Regions from separate parts of the Homo sapiens genome. Here region 1 is linked to region 2. Evidence: promoter capture Hi-C in human tissues and cell types (Jung and others, 2019). All regions are on one chromosome and are shown on one strand. Each heading gives the region's core, a stretch centred on a gene start or on the middle of the fragment in contact. The rest is flanking DNA. Distances are from core to core; before and after follow the strand shown.

Region 1 (3,418 bases), core at 491-2,990, 190 kb before region 2:
TACATTTTTTCTTTTTGGTGGGGACAGAGTCTTGTTCTGTCACCCAGGGTGGAGTGCAGTGGCATGATCTTGGCTCACTGCAACCTCCACCTCCCAGGTTCAAGTGATTCTTGTGCCTCAGCCTCCCGAGTAGCTGGAATTACAGGCGCCTGCTACCATGCCCAGCTAATTTTTGTATTTTTAGTAGAGATGAGGTTTCGCCATGGTGGCCAGTCTCGGACACCTGACCTCAAGTGATTCACTTGCCTTGGCCTCCCAGTGTGCTGGGATTACAGGCATGAGCCACCGTGCCCGGCCTAAATTTATTTTTTGTTTTTTAGAGATGTGGACTTACTCTGTTGCCCAGGCTAGAGTGCAGTAGCATGATTATAGCTCACTGCAGCCTCAAATTCCTGTCCTTAAGCAATCCTGCCCCAGCTTCCCAAAGCGCTGGGATCACAGGCATGAACCACCATGCCTGGCCTGGCAAGTCTGTCTTGTGGCATATTAGGAAATGTGACTTTGGAGGCTGAGAGGTGGAGGCAGAGTGAATGCCCATGAAATCTGTACCTGTTTTCTTTTAGAGGCTCCACTTCCTTCTCTCAGGTAAGGCATGAGCCACTGTACTCGACCTTTGTTTGGTCTTTCTTTTCTCCTTTCATTTTTTTTTTTTTTGAGACAGAGTCTCACACTTTCACCCAGGCTGGAGTGCAATGGTGCAATCTCGGCTCACTGCAAGCTCCGCCTCCCGGGTTCACGCCATTCTCCCGCCTCAGCCTCCCGAGTAGCTGGGATTACAGGTGCTCACCACCACGCCCAGCTATTTTTTTTGTATTTTTAGTAGAGACGGGGTTTCACTGTGTTAGCCAGGATAGTCTCGATCTCCTGACCTCGTGATCCGCCCGCCTTGGCCTCCCAAAGTGCTGGGATTACAGGCGTGAGCCACCGCGCCAGGCCTTCTCCTTTCTTTTCTTTTCTCTTTCCTTTCTCTCTCTCTTTCTCTCTCTCTCTTCCTCTCTTTCTCTCTCTTCCTCTTTTTCTCTCTTTCTCTCTCTCTTTCTTTCTCTCTCTTTTTCTCTTTCTCTCTTTCTCTCTCTGTCTCTTTCTCTCTTTCTCTCTCTTTTTCTCTTTCTCTCTTTCTCTCTCTTTCTCTCTCTCTCTTTCTCTCTCTCTCTTTCTCTCTCTCTGTCTCTCTCTCTCTTTCTCTTGCTTTCTCTCTCTCTGTGTGTCTTTCTCTCTCTCTCTTTCTTGATGGAGTCTCACTCTGTTGCCCAGGCTGGAGTGCAGTGGCACAATCTCAGCTCACTACAACCTCAAACTCCCGGGTTCAAGCGATTCTCCTGCCTCAGCCTCCCAAGTAGCTGGGATTATAGGTGTGAGCCACTGCACCCAGCTAATTTTCATATTTTTAGCATAGATGAGGTTTAACCATTTTGGCCAGGCTGGTCTCAAATTCTTGACCTCAAGCGATCCACCTGCCTCGGCCTCCCAAAGTGCTGGGATTACAGGTGTGAGTCACTGTGCCTGGCCCTTTGTTTGAGATTTCTAGTGGTCAAGTGAACAAAGCAAATGACCCAGGAACTGGAGACAAAACTAGGTTTGTAACCTGATCTGGTTTGGGTTTCTGTTTGTGAAATGGAAATGACACTGTTGTTGGGGGAAAAACAACTTTACTTTTATTTATTTTGAGACAGGGTCTCGCTCTGTCGCCCAGGTTGGAGTGCAGTGTTGTGATCTTGGCTCACTGCAACCTCCGCCTCCCGGGTTCAAGCAATTCTCCTGTCTCAGCCTCCTGAGTAGCTGGAACTACAGGTGCATGACACCACACACGGCTAATTTTTGAGGGTTTTTTTTGAGACAGAGTCTTGTTCTGTTGCCCAGGCTTGAGTGCAATGGCACGATCTTGGCTCACTGCAACCTCCGCCTCCTGGGTTCAAGCAATTCTCCTGCCTCAGCCTTCTGGGTAGCCGGGACTACAGGTGCACGCCACCATGCCCAGCTAATTTTTGTATTTTTAGTAGAGACAGGGTTTCACCATGTTGGCCAGGCTGGTCTCGACTCCTGACCTCAGGTGATCTGCCTGCCTTGGCCTCCCAAAGTGCTGGGATTACAGGTGTGAACCATCGTGTCTGGCCTAATTTTTGTGTTTTTAGTAGAGATGGAGTTTCACAATGTTAGCCAGGCTGGTCTCGAACTCCTGACCTCAGGTGATCTACCTGACTTGGCCTCGCAAAGTGCTGGGATTACAGGTGTGAGCCACCATGCCTGGCCTCATGTCCTATATGTTAATTCAACCTATATTTGCATTCCTCTGAAGCTTGTAGTCTGTGGAGGAGTCAGCACACTAAGGCCTGAAGGCCAAATCTGGCTGGCCATCTGTTTTTATAAATAAAGTTTTACTGGAACACAGTCATACCTACTCATTTACATATTGGTGATGGCTATTTCTGCACTTTGATGATGGCAGGTTTGAGTAGTTGGGGCATAGAATGTGTGGCTCATGAAACCCGAAATATTTATCTGGTTCTTTAGAGAAAATGTGTGCCAATCCCTGCTTTGTTCTTGTGGGACAGACAGATTACGATAGATAGTAAATAAGAAAATCTCAGGCTGGGTGCAGTGGCTTACACCTGTAATCCTAGCACTTTGGGAGGCGGAGGCAGGCAGATCACCTGAGTTCAGGAGTTCGAGACCAGCCTGGCCAACATGGTGAAACCCCCGTCTCTACTAAAAAAATACAAAAAATTAGCCAGGTGGTGGGTGCCTGGAATCCCAGCCACTCAGGAAGCTGAGGCAGGATAATTGCCTGAACCTGGAAGATAGAGGTTGCAGTGAGTTGAGATTGCACCACTGCACTCCAGCCTGGGTGACAGAGCAAGACTCTAAGAAAGAAAAAAAAAAAAAAAAAGAATCTTTGACAGTGGTAAATGCTACGAAAAAACAGTAATAGTAAAGCATGACTAGGTGGGTAAAGGGTTGCTTCCCAGTGGTCTGGGGAAGCCTCTGTTTTGAGGCAACGTTGAGCTGTGTGAATCTTCCAGAAGGTTGATTTGGGCAGAAGTGGCAGCAAAAACAAAGGCTTTGGGGCACTTAAGAACTTGAGAGGCCAGGGGCAGTGGCTCATACTTGTAATCCCAGTACTTTGGGAGGCTGAGGCAGGAGAATCGCTTGAGCCCAGGAGTTCAAGACCAGCCTGGGCAACATAGCAAGACCCTGTCTCTACCAAAACAAAACAAAACTAGTCAGACGTGGTGATGTGTACCTGTAGTCCCAGCTACTTGGGAGGCTGAGGCAGGGTGATTGCTTGAGCCCAGGAGTTGGAGGCTGCAGTGAGCTGTGATTGCACCACGACACTCCAGCCTGGGCGACAGAGTGAGACTCTGTCTCAAAAACACAAAATGTAAATAAAGCTAGGCCGGGTGCAGTGGCTCATGCCTGT
Region 2 (3,127 bases), core at 418-2,917:
GGAGCAGTTCAGGGCTCAGAATACGCCTCTTGGTTCCTCCCCTCCCTGGGGAAACACCCTCACATCCTGCGTGTCTGCGCTTGTCCAATTGCATAAAAGCTCTATTTGACCTCATGGGGGCCTCTTCATGCTGGAGGTGGGGGTCCCAGCACGGTGAGGGGGGCCTCTGCCTCATCCCAAGAATGGCAAGAATCCACCCCTTCCTCCCCAGTGGCTGTGCGTTGCTTTGCGACAGGGACAGATTCCCACCACCTCCCACCAACGCGCCGGCCTTTTTTTTTGAGACAGACAGAGTCTTGCTCTGTTGTCCAGGCTGGATCGCAGTGGCACAACCTCAGCTCACTGCAACCTCCACCTCCCGTGTTCAAGTGATCCTCCCACCTCAGCCTCCCAAGTAGCTGGGACTACAGGCGCCAGTCACAATGCCTGGCTAATTTTTGTATTTTTAGTAGAGATGGGGTTTCGCCATGTTGGCCAGCTGATCTCTAACTCCTGGACTCAAGCGATCTGCCCGCCCCAGCCTCTCAAAATGCTGGGATTACAGGCATGAGCCACCGCACCCAGCTCAGACTCCCTCATTTGGTGGGGATTTGGGATTGAGGCCGGGGCATCCACTGGAGACCTGAGTTGGGGCGGGGGGAGATGAGGGTTAGGGATGGAGATGAGACCCTTTATTTGAGGAATCAAGAATTTGGGGAAAGTGAAAACTGTGTTTTGGGATCTGTGGTGAGAATTTGGGACCAGGACACGTGACTTAGGGATTTGAGTGGACAGATGAAGGTTTGGAGTAAGGCTGGGGACCCCATTTTGGGATCTGGGGTGAGATTTGAGGTGGGATGAGGACCCGTTAGGGACTTGAAGGAAAGGCTTTGGGGCTGAGGCTGGTACCTCCTATTGTGCAGCTGAGGGACTGAGGATAAAGCAGGTAGGTGAGTGAGAGTTCGGGGTGAGGTTGGGACCCCAGTTGGGGGCCTGAGTGAGGCAGAAAGGACTTGGTGCCAGGGGCGGTGGCTCATGCCTGTAACTCCAGCGCTTTGGGAGGGCAAGGCCGGAGGATCGCTTGAGACCAGAAGTTCAAGACCGGCCTGGGCAGCATAGCAAGATCCCGGTCTCTACAAAATATACATATTTTAAAATTAGCTGGGTGTGGCAGTGTGTGCCTGTGGTACCTGCTTCTCAGGAGGCTGAGGCAGGTGGATGGCTTGAACGCAGGAGTTGGAGGCTGCAGTGAGCTATGATTGCACCACTGCACTCCAGCTTGGGTGACAGATCAAGACCCTGTCTCCAAAATAAAATGTAAAAATAATAGAAAATAAAAAAGATTTGGTATAAAGCTGCACCTCCTCCTAATTCTAGGGCCTGGATGGAGGCTGAAGTCTTGAATGAGGTTAAGGTCTCCTTTGAGGGGATCTGCTAGGCGGAAAAGGTTTGGGGTAAGACTGGAACCCTCGAACTCTAGGGCTGGGTGGGAGTGACCCTTCTCCTCCACAGTGGGGTGGGGCAGGAACAACCCAGCTCCTGGCGCTGGGCTCCACCCCAGCCAGCCAATCAGCCCTCAGCACAAAGTTTCCCAACTTCCCAGTCCAGCTGTCAGCGCTCCCCCTCCAAAAAGCCCCGCCTGGCCAGGCGCTGGAGCGCAGGGCGAGGCCAGGGCGGGGTCTCGGGCAGTTTCCCGCGGACCCTGAGAGGAGCGGCCGCCGCGAGTGACTGCACCGAGCCCGAGAAGTCGCCGCGCCCCGCAGCCGCCCCGACTGGTTCCCCGCCTTGCCCGTGGGCCCCGCCGGGATGGGGAACCGCCGGGACCTGGGCCAGCCGCGGGCCGGTCTCTGCCTGCTCCTGGCCGCGCTGCAGCTTCTGCCGGGGACGCAGGCCGGTGAGCCGGGAGGGAAGAGATGGGACCCAGGGTCCACGACTCAGAGAGGCTCTAAAAGAGCGAGGGGTGGAGGGGGGTGGAGGGGCGTGGAGGGGAAGGGCGTGGGCGCCGCGTGCGGCCCCGGTGTGATGTGGGCGCATGAGTATCTGACTCTGGGTGATTTGTGGGTGTGACAGCTCGGGGTGGGGGTGGGGATGTGTGAGTGCGTTTTCTGGCGAGCGCGTGGGAATGCATGCAATGTGCAGGTGTGTGCATGTGTGTATGTGTGTGTAGCATGTGTGTGCATTTGGAGTGAAGTTGCGTATGTGCTTGCGTGTGGAGGTTGATGGTGATAGTGTGACTGTGAGTGACAGGGCAGTGCTGGGACGGTGTGTATTGCGACAGGTGAGTATGCACTTGTGCTCTTGTCTATGTGCTGATTTTCGAGGGTAACCGTGTGAGTGGTTATGCGTGTGATTGTGTGTCTCTGAGTGCCGCTATGAGGGGTGTAGTTATGATTTTTGGGTGCAAATAATTGCCCATGAGGATGAAGGTGGGTGGGGACAAGTATTGGGGGGTGCTCTTCGGGAACCCACAGTTTCCTTTGCGTCTCTTTAAATGGCTTCACCTCATTCTCCCTTTTCCTCCTCTGCCCCAAATTGGCGAGCGCCCATCTCCTCCCCTCCCTCCCTGTTGCCCCCTCCCCCACCCCGCGGTCCCCAGAGCCGCGATCAGCACCATGGACAGGGCTTCGGGGAGGGCCGCGGTGAGGGGCGAGACGGGGCGGGGCGCAGGGCGGGGCAGGAGTGGAAGTTGCTCCCCCCCTCCCCACCCCAGCTGCTGGAGCCTTGGGTGTTTTTCCCGAGGAATTTCTCAGGAGCCCCCAAGGGGTCCCGGGGGCCGCCGGATGGGTGAGTCAGCGCTGACGCACGCCCAGCTGCGCGCATCTGGCTGGGCGCCCTGTCCCGCCCCTCAGGGTTCAGAGTGGGGGGCGCTTCGGGAGTCAGGGGATGGCGTAGCTTCTCAAGTGTTGGAGATGGGGCTTCCCTGATCTGAGAGACCCTAGACTAGGTCCTCCTGGAAATCCCTTTCTAAGGTGAGCTCAGTCTCCCAACACACACACACACACACACACACACACACACACACACACACACCACAGCACACTTCTTACTTTGGAGTCCAGGAAGGTGCCTGTCCATATGGTTAATCCCTGATTGGACTATGCCGCATTCCCACGCTCACACATCCACATGGTCATGGAATCTTAGGCAT

Evidence for each region. Contacts are between HindIII fragments. The study calls those that stand out against the background at their distance.
Region 1: a contact is called between a fragment that was not itself captured here and the fragment with the promoter of COL5A3 in region 2, in 1 of the 25 tissues and cell types used here (pancreas).

Annotation. Positions count from the first base shown.
Region 1 is chr19:10,202,841-10,206,258 of GRCh38, reverse strand. No RefSeq gene overlaps it. Among named protein-coding and RNA genes, the nearest start is that of DNMT1, 9.6 kb to the right of the region's middle. The HindIII fragment of the contact is 3,473 bases long and covers 4-3,418 here.
Region 2 is chr19:10,009,044-10,012,170 of GRCh38, reverse strand. It overlaps COL5A3 (collagen type V alpha 3 chain), which reads left to right and starts at 1,667. Exons shown (of 67, transcript NM_015719.4): 1 at 1,667-1,873. The coding sequence starts at 1,786. The HindIII fragment of the contact is 11,359 bases long and covers 1-3,127 here.